5 separate regions of the Homo sapiens genome follow, and all the other regions are linked to region 5. Evidence: promoter capture Hi-C in 16 types of primary human blood cells and fetal thymus (Javierre and others, 2016). All regions are on one chromosome and are shown on one strand. Each heading gives the region's core, a stretch centred on a gene start or on the middle of the fragment in contact. The rest is flanking DNA. Distances are from core to core; before and after follow the strand shown.

Region 1 (2,700 bases), core at 90-2,589, 250 kb before region 5:
ATGTATGTAACTATTATGTATCCAAAAAATACTATTTAAAAAATGTATTGGGGTACAATTTACATACATTAAATTCATTCATTTTAATTGTACAATTTAGTAATTTTTCTCTCTTTTTTTTTTTTTGAGATAGGGTCTCTTGTCACCCAGGCTGGAGTGCAGTGGCATGATCACAGCTCACTGCAGCCTTGACCTCCCAGGCTCAAGTGATCCTCCCACCTAAGTCTCCTGAGTAGCTGGGACCATAGGCATGTACCACCTTGCCCAGCTAAGTTTTGTATTTTTTGTAGAGATGAAGTTTCGCCATGTTGGCCAGGCTGCTCTCAAACTCCTGGGCTCAAGCGATTTGCTCCACTTGGTCTCCCAAAGTGCTAGGGTTACAGGCATGAGCCACATTGCCTGGCCTAATTCAATAATTTTTAATAATTTACCAAGTTGTGCACCATCACTGCAGTCTAGTTTTGAGCATTTCCATCATTTTAGGTGCTTTTTATTTTTTCTTCTTAGTGATTAACTTTTAACACAAAAAAATTGTTCAAACTTTGATTCAGTAGTTCTAGTTGAGTATTATTTTCTAAGATGATTGTTGGAGATGGAAACAAGGATTTGCACATAAGGATGTTCATCATAGCTTTTTATGATACCAAAAATCAGAAATGATTTAATTTTCCAACAATAATTCATTTATGGTCCATATCTGATAGTCTCTATTAAAAATGTTTTCCAATAATATTTAATGACAAAATGCTAAAGATGCTGACTGATAACAGCGGGATAGGTAGTGTGATGTCAATTTTGATAAAAAATACAGTCTGTGGCTGGGTGCGGTGACTCATGCCTGTAATCCCAGCACTTAGGGAGGCCAAGGTGTGCAGATCACTTAAGGTTGGGAGTTCGAGACCAGCCTGGCCAACATGGTGAAACCCCGTCTCTACTAAAAATACAAAAAGTAGCCAGGCATGGTGGCAGGCACCTATAATCCCAGCTACTCGGGAGGCTGATGCAGGAGAATCGTTTGAACCCGGGAGGCGGAGGGTGCCGTGAGCCGAGGTCTCACCACTGCACTTCCGCCTAAGTGACAAAAGCGAGACTGTCTCAAAAAACAAAGTGTTATAATAGACCTAGAAAAAAGCCCAGAAGAAAAATGCAAAACAAGATGCTAACATAGCCCTAGGTTTTGAGATTTTTTTGTTTTGTTCTTTTTTTTTCTGTTATACAATTCTGTATTTTTCAAATTTTCAACAGTGACCATGAGTCACTTTTCCAGGAAACACGTTTTAAACAGGTCAGAGGATTTAACACATCCAGGACCCATCTGAAGGTGGACTTGAGCAGCCACTCCATGTCAGCCAACCTTGGTCAGCATAAGTGGGGGTGCAATTATCACATAGAGGCTGTCCTGGAAATTATTAAAGAGTCATTAAAGGCTTTTAGTGTTTTTTTTTGTGTGTTGTTTTTAATTGTCAGAGATTACGACTAGCATAGATTAACCTAAATAGTGTGGTGTAATCTCTTTTATGGTACCCCTCATTTCATCCCTCCTATCTATGCACAGATGCTAATTGAATGTGAGAGGCAGTCAACAAATGAAACTTTTCCATGCTAATGTTATGGAAAGGCAGAATTACATCAAGAGACTTCAGTTTAACCGGACCTCAAAAGAAAGATTAAAAAATATGAATCCCTAATGTGTTCATTCATTGTGTCCTGGATGGGGGATACAGCATGGGGTGAGGAAGGGCTGGGGGTCCCAGAGATAAGAACTATAATATATAACAGCATGTGTCAAGACTTGGAGGACCAAGCTGTGGGTTTCTTCCTCCTTTAGAAAAAGCCAGTGTGGCCAGGAGGGAATGAGATAGCTGTTGGCCTTGAACCATGATAAGCAATTTGTATTTTATTTGAAATGTAATTTAAAAACAACAAGTTTCCTGAAGCTGCAGTGTGGAGAAGAGATTGAACACAGGCGCAACAGGAGTGGGAGCCAGTCAGGATGCGAGGGCATGGGCCAGGGTGGCAGCAGGAGGGACAAGTTCTATACATTGGGGCTATATCAGGGGCTGTGATGGAAGAGATACAGCTGGCAGAAGGAGATGGGGGTGCAGGGAGTCAAGAATAGCACCCAGTGGTTGTCTCCAGCCAAGGGGGAGAGGGAGGCCTAGGCTGGGGACGTCGCACCTCTGTGGTGCCAAGGAGACCCAGAGGTGAGGTGTCAGGGAGGCAGTGGCACTGTGTCCTCAATTGAGAGCCCAGGGAATGGGTACCACCATCCAACACACACAGGGCAAAGGTACTGAAAGGTGACAGCGTGCTGGCAGCCCTTGCAGCCCTCGCTGGCTCTCGGCGCCCACTCTGGCTACGCTTGAGGAGCCCTTCAGCCCGCCGCTGCACTGTGGGAGCCCCTTTCTGAGCTGGCGAGGCCGGAGCCGGCTCCTTCAGCTTGCAGGCGCAGGACGGAACCGGGGCTGTGCGCGGCGCTTGCGGGCCAGCGCAAGTTCCGGTTGGGCGTGGGCTGGGCGGTCCCCGCACTCTGAGCAGCCCGCTGGCCCCGCCGGCCCCGGACAGTGAGGGGCTTAGCGTCCGGGCCAGCAGCAGCGGAGGGTGTGCCGGGTACCCCAGCAGTGCCGGCCCACCAGCGCTGTGCTAGATTTCTCGTGGAGCCTTAGCTGCCTCCCCGCGGGGCAGGGCTCGGGACCTGCA
Region 2 (2,700 bases), core at 171-2,670, 240 kb after region 5:
CAGGAAGAGCTCTAAGCCCGTTTCAGTGGGAGAAGAGGAGGCTGAGGTTTTTCCATGTCTGCACAGGTTGCCATGTACCCCCCACCCTGGCTCTGGGCTCAGCCACATGGGCTGCAGCCAGTGGGGTATTAGCAAAGGGGTGACAATGGGCCCTTGGAAAGCTCACACAGTGTGGCTTTGCTTGCTCCCCACTCTGCCGTCACGGTGAGAAGGTGTCGGGCTGGCCTGCTGGATGAGGGAGAGTTGTGGCCTAGGTGTGCCCTGTCCCCAGCCACAGCTGGGGAGTGCCAGCCACAGGAGGGAGCCCAGCCCAAGCCCGTGAAAGCCCCGACCTGCAGACGCATAAACCAAACAGATGCCACTGTCTGCAGCCACGGGGCTCAGGGTGGTGTTCTGGGCATTGCTGTGGCAACACTGACTGTTGCAGTGGGCATGACTGCTCCTATGCCCGTGCCATTCCCAGCAAGGCAGGTGCTGTAATCACAGGCTTGCAGCCTGCACCCCGCCCACCACACACTTGGGGGTTGGCTGCGGAAGACGGGGAGGGAACAGACTCCAGGAGCTTGTCAGGGCAGAAAAAGATCAACCAGGGGAGCCCCTGAGAGGGGAAGACCATGAACTTGATCAACATGGCCAACTCGAAGGGCCAAGTGAGAAGCCTATCAAAATTGCCATATGCTTGTCCTCTCCCACTCCTTGGAGACAGTAGGCACAGCCTTTGTCTCTGTCCTGTTGTACTAGAGGACACCCTAATGGTGTACCTGGGTGGTGTGTACTTCTCAAGATACTGACCAACCACGAGCATCTGCTGGTGATGTCCCCCTGCCTGGGGGCAACCTTGACCAAGATAGAAGAGAGTTTCATCTGTGAGCTGCCCTATGCCTCAGAGGCTAAAAGTATTTTGGTCCTTAAGTAGAAAGTAGTTATCTCTTCTGGAGGAGTCCCTAGACCCTTCTACCAGTGATGGAGGGTCTGGCTGTGACGCAGGTGAAAAGATTCCCCAGGAAAGAGACTGATACCTCTGCAGGCTTTCATCATAGGCTGGTTACACACCTGGCTTCTTGACAGTGTGTTTGCCAGTGACACAGGTCCCTCACATCCTTGCTGGGGCCCATGGTCAGACACAATGGCTGCAAGAAACCACTGCCTTCATCTTCTCAGTAAGTCATCAGCAAGTTTTGTTTAGGGTGGTGGGCAAGCCCCGGTCCCTGTGCCTGTGAGTTTTACAATCCGTAGGGGGAGGCGGAGGTGCACATTGAAGCCTCCGCTGCAAGTTTAAAGAAGAAGGCTGAGCATTCTGGGTCTGTGGGATCATCCCTCATGGTCCCCCAAGTTTGCCTGTGCAGGTGGGCTCTGCCCCTAAGTTCCAGGCCATCTACCCAGGCTAGCACCAGCAGGCTGGACAGATGGCTGCTTGGCCAGAGCTGAAGACTATGTTCTCTGCATGCCCCCTGCCAGGAAGGATGTTGGAGACTCCCAGGCTCCTGCTTAACTAGTAGAGTTAGAGCCTGGTGTTTTCAGCCACACCAAGAGAAGAAAGCAAGACAGGGCCAGTGCCTTGTTGGTGGATCTGAGGGTCCTGGTGCATGGGACATGCTAGTCTGTATCCATATCAGGCCCATCAGGAGCATGGCCAGCCCACAGCTGGAGGGCATCAGCCAGCCAGGACAGGGAGCGTGGCAACAGAATTCCAGGTTCTGTCCTCACCAGCAGGGACACTCTCAACCACCTGCTGCTGGGTCGCCACATTCTCCAGGGGAGGGCAGCAAGCCAGACCTGCCCAGAACGGTCTCAGGGATCCCTGAGTCCTCAGCACTTGGGCCCAGACCAGCTGCGGAACGTGAGACAGCATGAGATGGCCAAGCCGGCCGGCACTGCCTCAGAAATGAAAGGAAGGGAAATTCCTAGAACCAGGTGCTCAGGGTGGATGCCCACTCCCCTGGGAGGCAGGTGGGAGCTCCGAGTGCTGATCCAGGCTGGGAGGTGGCACCCAGGCAAGATGGGTCTCGCTGGGCTGAAGCAGCCTTGTTTTCCTGCAGTGTGGCTCTACAGGGAGGGGCCCACGGCCAGGTGGTCAGGACCTGGGGAGAAACCAAAGCCAAGGTTGCAGAGGAGTCAGCAAACTGCAGAGTGCAGGCATATCCCAGCAGTATGGGTGCAGAGGGAAAGACAGAAGAAAGCAGTAAGGCAGAGAGGGAACATTCCTCTAGGACAATCCGAGGGGTCTCCATCCCCTGGGACCTCAGTCACCAGTGGGGCAAAGCATTTAGCAACCATTTGACATGCTGGAATGGCAAACCATTCCTAGAACCAGGTGCTCAGGGTGGATTCTAGGAATGGTTTGCCAACCAGCACGTCCCATGCACCAGGGCCCTCAGATCCACCAACAAGGCACTGGCCCTGCCTTGCTTGCCAAGACACCATCCAGGCCTTGGGTGAATTGCCCCATGGAGGAGCAGGAGGGAGGGAGGAGTGGGGAGGAAGATTCATGGGAGGAAGAAAGGATGGAGGAAGGAAGTAGACTGCTGGGAGGAGAAGCAGATCCAACTCAGGCCACAGGTGGAGGAGCTTCCAGGCACGAGGGATCAAGGGACTGTGAAAGGAAAATAAATCTTGGGACCCCGAAATCACTAAGCCCAAGGGAAAAGTCAAGCTGGGGTTAGGCAAACCTGCCTCCCATTCTATTCCTAAATAACGTAG
Region 3 (2,700 bases), core at 159-2,658, 230 kb after region 5:
CTTCCATCTGATACTATAATGGTGAACACATGCCATTACACCTATGTCTAACACCAGTGAATGTACAACACCAAGTGTGAACCCTAATGTCAACTAGGGACTCTGGGTGACAATGATGTGTCAGTGTTGGTTCATCAGCTCTAACAAATGCACCACGCTGTGGGGGATGTGGATGATAGGGGAGGGTATATGTATGTATGTATGTATGTGTGTGTGTGTGTGTGTGTGTGCGTGTGTGTGTGTGTGTGTTAGGAGAAGGTAGGGCATATATGAGAACTCTACTTTCCACTCAATTTTGCTATGAATTCCCATGGAATACTATGCAGCCGTAAAAAAGAATTAGATCATGTCCTTTGCATGAACATGGATGGAGCTGGAGGCCATTATCCTTAGCAAACTAACTTAGGAAGAGATAACCAAATACCGCATGTTCTCACTTATAAGTGAGAGCTAAATGATGAGAACATATAGACACCTAGAGGGGAACAACACACACTGGGGCCTATCGGAGGGTGGAGGGTGGGAGGAGGGAGAGGACTCAAAAAATTAACTAATGGGTACCAGGCTTTAATACCTGGGTGATGAAATAATCTGTACAACAAACCCCCATGACACAAGTGTGTGTATTTAACAAAGCTGCACTTGTACCCCTGAAATTAAAATATCAAAATCTAAATTTAAAAAATTTGCTGTGATTCCAAAAATGCTCTACAGAACAGTCTATATGTTAATATATATTTAAAAATACAGGGTCCCCAGTTTATTTGAATTTTATGTAAATAACATACAAAATTTTTTTATTGTTTAATTGAAATTCAAATTTAACTGAACATTCTGTATTTTTTATGGCAACCCTACTCCTGAGAATCTGTGGCTATCAGCCAGCCCTAACATGGATTTGGGTCTTGATTTCACACTATTTGTCTAAAAAAATGTAAGCTAAAATGTTTATATTAAATAGATCCAAATTTGTACTGTCCTGACGCATCTGGTAAAAGCAAACAAAAATTATTTCTGTAAAAGATGCATCTTTGCCCCAGACTTTAAAGTATTCCCACGAAAAGATTTTCAGAGGCCGGCTGTGTTGGCACATGCCTGTAAGTTCCAGCTACTTGGGAGGCTAGGTGACAGGATCACTTGAGCCCAGGAGTTTAAGTTCAGCTTGGACAACACAGTGAGACCCCGTTACTAACAAAAACTATTAAAAATAAATTCGATAATTAAAAATAAAGGTTTTGAATAAATATAAGCTTATAACAACAAAAAAACCACATACGAGGAAACAAAAGAGAGCAGAAAGAAAAAAATACTGGCCCAGGCTCACCAGGACTTTAGGAAGTAAAATTATTAGATGTAGATTATAAAACATTTTCATGTTTAAAAAAACAGGGGAAATTGAAGCCATGAGCAAGGATATTTTTAGAAATGACCAGAAACATAAAAAACACAAATCTTTAAAATAGAGAAATATAATTATTGAAATGAAAAACTCAAAGCAACAGTTAAATAGCAGATTACACACAGTTGAGTAAAGAAAGTGACAGAAAGATGTGAGTAAAAGCTTGAAGCGTAAGAACGGACAAACATTCAATTGGAATTCTATACAAAGATAGTAAGGTGAATAAAAGAGAGGCAATTAGAATTTTCCAAAACTGATAGTAGTTATCAATGTTCAGAATTAGGAAGCATAAAGAATATAATGCCAGATCTCTCCTAGACACATCACTAAAAAACTGAAGAATGCCAAAGTCAAAAAAAGATTTCAAAGCAACCAAAGAGAAAAGATAGGACCTTGTATTTAATTAGACACCAGCTGACATCACAACTGCAACCAAGGGAGTCAGGAGAATATTATCTGTAAAGTACTAGGAGAAACTAACAACCAACCCAGAATTATGTACCCAGCAAAACTGTTTCAAGAATGATGGCAAAATATAGACACCTGCACATGAACTGATACATTCAGATAAGTTGGGAGCAGTATACCAACAAGATATCCTCTCTAAAAGACTTTTGGAAGAGTGTACTATGGAAGAAAATAAATTAGCTCAAATGCAAAAAGGAATGATGAGCAAAGAAAATGGTAAGTATGTGTGTGTATCTGAACAAGCCTAAGTAGAAGATAATAATAATAGGGTAACTTGTGGATTTAAAAAAGATTAAGTGTATTAGCCCATAAATTTTAACAGTCCTGACTCCATGTTAGAGAAGAGTTTGCTTATGGCTATATGTTTGGAAATTAAAAATTATAAAAACATCTAAATTTATGAATCAAAGAAAAATATAATAGAAATTAAAAACTACTAAAACAGAATTATAACAAAAACAATTTCATCACAGTTTTTCTGGTGTTACATGGCTAATGATGTTTAAGCAGATGCTGGAGCAGAGCTGAGGAAGAGTAAAGAGCATAAAGGGGTGGAAGAGGAACAAGCAGGCAGGAAGGGCACTCCTGAAGGGTTTAATCTACACCACGTGTTCTTCTAAGATCCGTGCATATACTAATTTCCTCGGTTTTCACAACTATGCTATGATACTGGTGTTACCCAATTTCGAGTATATGAAACTAAGGCACAGAGAAGTTAAGTTACCTGACCAAGGTCACACAGCCAGAAAAGAGGCTTATTTGCTTATACTAGAAAAGAAGAACTGAACATTAATGAACTAAGAACTAATACATAAAGATAAAAAACAGCAACT
Region 4 (2,700 bases), core at 80-2,579, 190 kb after region 5:
CATCAGTGGTGGTATTGACCTTCATCGCTGATTAAGAAGGCACCCAGCAGCATTTTAGTTTGGCTGCTGTAACAAAGTACCATAGACTGGGTAGCTTAGAGCCAACAGAAATTTGTCTTTCACAATTCTGCAAGCTGGCAAATCCAAGGTCAAAGTACCAGAAGATTCAGTGTCTGGTGAGGGCCTACTTCCTGGTTTGTAGATGTCTGTCTTCTTGCTATGTTCTCACATGGCAATAAGGGCGTGGGAGTTCTCTGGGGGCTCTTTTATAAAAACACAAATCCCATTCATGAGGGCCCTACCCTCATGACCCAATGACCTCCCAAGCGCCTCACCTCCTAACAGCCTCTTACTAGGGGTTAGGATTTCAACATATAAACTTCAGGGAGACAAAAACATTTAGTCCATTGCAGCCAGGTTTCTCCACTGTGAGGTTACTGCTCTCCCATTGATTTAATTGTACTTCATTTAAATGTAATCTGAATGTGGTCTAGTCACTAACTCATAAAATGTGGGCTTGACGAAACGGAGACTGTAGCCATTCTAGTAGCTTTGTTGTCTGTTGTTACACTGACGTACTGTGAGCTTTAGAACGCATTAAGTGATCTGTGACAGGCTGGTCCATTCACAGGGAAAATAATCTGGAGTGGCCTGATGAGGCAGGAGAACAGGTGCAGTGAACACTGACAAGAGAAAGTGCTGGAAGGGTAGGCAGGCATGGTCAAAGAGAGAAATGGCTGACTTGAAGAAGATGGCAGAGATGGAGCAGATCCAGGGCACGTTTGCTCCAGAGGCACCCACTGGAGGCGGTGAGGCCACACAGTGAAGAAGCAGCCCCTCAGAAAGGAGGCAGGCAGGGAACGAAGACCTCAGGTCATTAAGGAAGTCATCTCTGGGGTCTCCTGGAATAATGCTGGGATGGTGAGTGGAGTGCCCTCATCCCTGTGAGTGAGGCAGGAAACGACACAAATTCAGGACAGCGACTAAGAGAAGAAAGCTGGATGACATGTGCCGTAGAGAGCAGGTTTCTGTTTTGTTTTCTTTGATTTTGTTTTATAAAGGGTGAAACATCAGCAACGAGAAGGCTGCCCCCTCCTCCTGACCCTGAGCTGAAGAGGATGTGGGAGAAGGAGCCGCCCCCACTTGAGTGGGCTCAGGGAAGCTGTGTAATTGGATGGCAGCCAGGGTTCAGTTCAGCAAGGACATGGAGGAACATTTAGTGATGATGTGGGGGAGTTTGGTTTCCTGCAGGGAGGGTTCTGGAGAATCTGGCAGGCATGTTTGGGAGGAAAGGCCACCGAGGGATGTGGGCCAGGGGAGAGGATGGCAGTCAGAGTCCAGAGGCGCTTACACAGATCAAGCACTGTGATAACTCAATAAGTACAGGAAGGAATATGTATGTTAAGTAGCTCGATTTAGCCATCCCACAATGTGTACAAATTTCAAAACCTGCTGTACATGATAAACACATACAATTTTTATTTGTCAATTAAAAAATCAGATATCCTTCACTCCTCCTATGAATCCCTAGTGAGTGCTCTCTTTGTGCCCATGGTGGTTTGGCAAGGAGGAGGCAGACGCGAATAAAACCAGGTTCTGGCTGTGGAGCTCACCCTCACGTGGGGCAGACCTGGGGCCAGTGCATGGTGAGCACTGGGAGAAGGAGCCTGGTCCAGGCTGGCTGAGGACAGAGGGCAGGGCTGGGTCTCAGGCAGGTGACCCCGAGGCCAATCCCAGGGAGTACATCTGAGCAGGGAACCTCTGAGGAGGTGCTGGGAAGTGTGTCCCTTGTCCTGAGTCTCCCCCACAAACCCCCAGGGGCACTTTGGCTGTGCGAACTTGGAGGCCCTGGCACTGTCAGATGGCAGGATCATGACCACAGAATGCCATCCACAAGCATGCAGTTTGCAACAGTTTCCAAAGTAATTTCCTGGCAAAACCCACTCCAAATTGAAGTTTGGAAATCCCGATACTTCTCTCAATCTTCAAGAAGGGCTATGAAGGATGGAAGATAACAAATGCATGTGGACACATGCAGACACGGTGCACATACACACACACAAACACACATACACACACACAACCCCTTATTCAGTACAGCTCAGGTGCAGTCATGAGGATACTTCACTGGGTCTTCCTTACACAGTTCCAGACACACCGAAGCCCGACTTCTATAAGAAAACGGAAAATTAGAACTGGATGGAGGCTCCTTCGTCACCGGATCCCCACCCTCTGTTTTGCAAATAAGAAGTGTGGCTCCATGGAGGTGAGGTGACCCAGGTTCACAGAGCCCTGGAGCGGCAGGGCTGGTGGGAAGGCAGAGCCCCTTGGCTCCCAGCACCGTGCACCCTGGCGCCATTGGAGAAGAATTTCATCCTGACTGTGTGCCCTCAGCTCTCTTCGTCCTGATCAGCCCCCAGTCAGTCCCTGGCCTCCTGCCCCCAGCCCTTTAGTCCTTCCTCCAAAGATGACAGCCTCACCCATATCCACAGGATTTTGCATTGTGCTCCGCCAACAGCACTTTGAACCATGAGAAGTTAACATGGGGCTAAGAAGCCCTAGAGCTCTTCCCGGAATAGCATCACTAGTAAACAGCCACACTGTACCAGAGGTCACAGTAGAGCATCTGAGATGCAAACAGACCTGTTAGAATTCACACAGGCAACTGAGTGTGTTCCTCAAGATACCCCCATGGGTGGG
Region 5 (2,700 bases), core at 172-2,671:
TTTACAGCTGGTTTGCTGAGCTCAATTTGTGGGCTTACTGAGCTGGATGCCATTCTAGCACTTCGTTGGTATATAAACCTAAAACCCTCAGTGCATAGAAAGGAAGGAGTTCCAGGACTGGGATGGAAATGCTAGAGATGGTCTATCATGTGAGTCTCACCACCCCTTGGGCTGCATCTCCCATGTGACAGCAGCTTTTATAATTAATGTACTGCTAATCTCTCTAGGCCAGAGATGCTGCTGAGAGATGGTTCCACTGCAATGCAAACCTGGTCCTCCATGGGGGTGGGACATCTGTCATGGGAAAAAGGTGGGCATAGTTACTATACCACACAGCAGGGCCAGCTTGGTCATCTGAATGGTTTGACCTGTGAAATCTCTGGTTGTGCTGTTAACTGATCTCGGGGTCCCCAGGAACAAAACAGATGAGTGATTCCACAAAGGTACCACAACATTGTGTAGGAGGAACTCTCCAGGGCTGGCAAGCAGAGCCCGACCTGAGCCACCATGACAGAGAAGACAAGGGAGGGCCCTCACTCAACTCCCAGACTCAGGCCTCTTGATGGAGCAGAGCCAGGGAGCCTCAGGGTAGGCATCCTACTACAAGTCTTCTTCCTAGCTTCTCAAAGAGAACTCCTACCATCAGCCTGGTGACTGTGTCCTCAGGACAGGGAAACTCCCGGCGGCAAATGTAAGCAATACTCTTCCCAAGCCTTTCTGAGTAGGAGAGATGGCTTTGGCAAGGCAAGGATTTAGCTCGTGCGCACTCCTGGTTAGGAGCTAATGGCCTGGCTGAATGGCCTGGAGGAATGTGGAAAGAACAAGATGGGCTGAGGATGGGTTTGGGGAAGGAGTATAACTGGCTACCTCAGAATACCCGCAGAGCATGAGATGATGTCCATCCTACATGAATCCTTATTGCAAGAGAGGCTAATCAATCATCATGTGGACATGCTGTCCCAATGTGCAGCTAGATGCCAGTCTTCCTTCCTAGTCATCTTGATACTTGCTCAGTGGGTTCATAAAAAGGAAAAAAAAAAAGAAGCAAGCAAGAAAAAGGCCATGGTGGCAAAAATGGATGCCAAGCCTGGGCTAAACCACAGGAAGTCTGGGCCTTCCCCTCAACAAAGCTGATGATACGGTTCCCCGCAGGAACCAGACAGCCCCTTGCGGAAAGCTGATTGCAGTGGGGCCTTTTCATAATAGAGGGGGTGGTGATTTGTCCCTACTGGAAGGGCCACTTATGCTGGGCTTGGATTTGTTTTCCTGCACTCTGTGGATCCTCTAGAAGGCCCCTATCCTGTCGCAGCATCTCACACGCCATCCAGGCCCAGAACGTCACAGAGAAGGAAGCACATGACCCCATCACACCCAATAACAACCAAATAAAAATGAAGTTACAGAGGCAGCTGGGAGACACACCCAGAAGTTGCCATACTGCCCTGGATGGGACGCAAGCTCTGAAGCAGTGACTAATTTGGAGAGGCTGGCCCACAGCAGAAGATGCAGGGCCGGAAACCAAGGGTAAACATAGAAGCGGCTTCTTAGGATTACTTAATAATATACTTGCAAAATGTTTTCTTCCCACCTAGGAACTCTGCTCTGTTGAAACTGAATTTAGTGCCCAAGGGAGAAGTACTTCCTCCAGAGTTCACAGTCCTGGCCACAGTGAATCAGAACCAAGGCTGGCCATTTTTGCCTCTTCGTACCACTGGGAAAATGAGCACCCACGGAAAATGGGGATGGCTTTTGTGGTCACTGCTACCATATTTCTCAAATGGACTAATGCAATCGCCTTCAAATCAATCTCCATTCCTCTTCCTTTCCCCCCACAAACTGCCCTCCCTCTCTAAGCATAAACCGGAACATAATATGCTCCTGCTGCCAATGGCTTCACACCACACTTAGAACAAGCTCAGCCTCCTCATGACCTGCAGAGCCCTTTCCAGCCTCAGCCCACCTCCCAGCCTGCAACATCCTCGTCTGCCTCTTGCTCCCTGAGCTCCTGTCACTGTGGCCTCCTTGCTGAACCTCAGACACATCATGTTTCCTGCCTGTCTTTGGGCTTCTGGTGCTCCTTCGGCTAGGACTTCTCCTCCCTCGGATCTCTGCCTCACTGCCTCCTACTCACCTGTCCCCAGCGTCACCTCCTTGGAGAGGAGGCTATCTCCCCCACCTGCTCCTACTCCTCACATTACCCAAAGTCATCTTCTGCAGGGCCGTCACTGGTGCCTTGGTGCATCCTACATATTGACTTATGGAATCTGTTCAAATGCTGAAATGTAAACTTTGCATGACGTTTTATTCTCCACAGCATCCCAAATTCTCTATTTCCTTCCTTTCCCTGCCTTGCCATTCTGGTAGGGATGTGTTGCTTAAATCTGCCTCTAGTTAATCAACGCTGAAGAGGCACTGCATGGAACTGGAGGACTAGTTATCCTAAGAGGTCCTAGACTTGGAGGTGTCTGCTGCCACTGATGAGGATCTGGGTGTCTCCTTCTAGGGAAGAGAGAGAGGGTTCATGGAACAGGTGCATCCTGTTCATTAGAGTGTCATTAGAATAACACTCTTTGGAAATGAATGCTCTCTATCCTGTTTTATTTTTCTTTATAGTACTGTCTGCTCTGTTAAATACTTACTTGGCCTGTCTTCACATATAGAAGGCAAGGGTCCCTGGAGACAGACACCCCACCCTTCTTC

The links. The method cuts DNA at HindIII sites, captures the fragments that hold promoters and counts their contacts. A CHiCAGO score of 5 or more calls a contact.
Region 1: a fragment that was not itself captured here is called in contact with the fragment with the promoter of SPATA13-AS1 in region 5 in 1 of 17 cell types (naive CD8 T cells); the score reaches 5.8 in naive CD8 T cells.
Region 2: a contact is called between a fragment that was not itself captured here and the fragment with the promoter of SPATA13-AS1 in region 5, in 5 of 17 cell types (endothelial precursors, fetal thymus, megakaryocytes and 2 more). The highest score is 7.9, in endothelial precursors.
Region 3: a fragment that was not itself captured here is called in contact with the fragment with the promoter of SPATA13-AS1 in region 5 in 5 of 17 cell types (endothelial precursors, M2 macrophages, M0 macrophages and 2 more); the score reaches 7.2 in endothelial precursors.
Region 4: a fragment that was not itself captured here is called in contact with the fragment with the promoter of SPATA13-AS1 in region 5 in 1 of 17 cell types (M2 macrophages); the score reaches 6.8 in M2 macrophages.

Annotation. Positions count from the first base shown.
Region 1 is chr13:24,506,930-24,509,629 of GRCh38, reverse strand. The region is part of intron 1 of PARP4 (poly(ADP-ribose) polymerase family member 4); the gene reads left to right. The region is part of intron 1 of LOC105370117 (a long non-coding RNA gene); the gene reads right to left. Among named protein-coding and RNA genes, the nearest start is that of PARP4, 4.5 kb to the left of the region's middle. The HindIII fragment of the contact is 3,829 bases long and covers 1-2,700 here.
Region 2 is chr13:24,010,486-24,013,185 of GRCh38, reverse strand. It overlaps a transcript of SPATA13 not described here. Among named protein-coding and RNA genes, the nearest start is that of C1QTNF9B, 110 kb to the right of the region's middle. The HindIII fragment of the contact is 3,516 bases long and covers 1-2,700 here.
Region 3 is chr13:24,027,597-24,030,296 of GRCh38, reverse strand. It overlaps a transcript of SPATA13 not described here. Among named protein-coding and RNA genes, the nearest start is that of C1QTNF9B, 130 kb to the right of the region's middle. The HindIII fragment of the contact is 311 bases long and covers 1,253-1,563 here.
Region 4 is chr13:24,062,089-24,064,788 of GRCh38, reverse strand. It overlaps a transcript of SPATA13 not described here. Among named protein-coding and RNA genes, the nearest start is that of SPATA13, 97 kb to the left of the region's middle. The HindIII fragment of the contact is 2,970 bases long and covers 1-2,700 here.
Region 5 is chr13:24,253,160-24,255,859 of GRCh38, reverse strand. It overlaps SPATA13-AS1 (SPATA13 antisense RNA 1), which reads left to right and starts at 1,421. Exons shown (of 3, transcript NR_046531.1): 1 at 1,421-1,524; 2 at 2,661-2,700. The region is part of intron 4 of SPATA13 (spermatogenesis associated 13); the gene reads right to left. The HindIII fragment of the contact is 5,552 bases long and covers 1-2,700 here.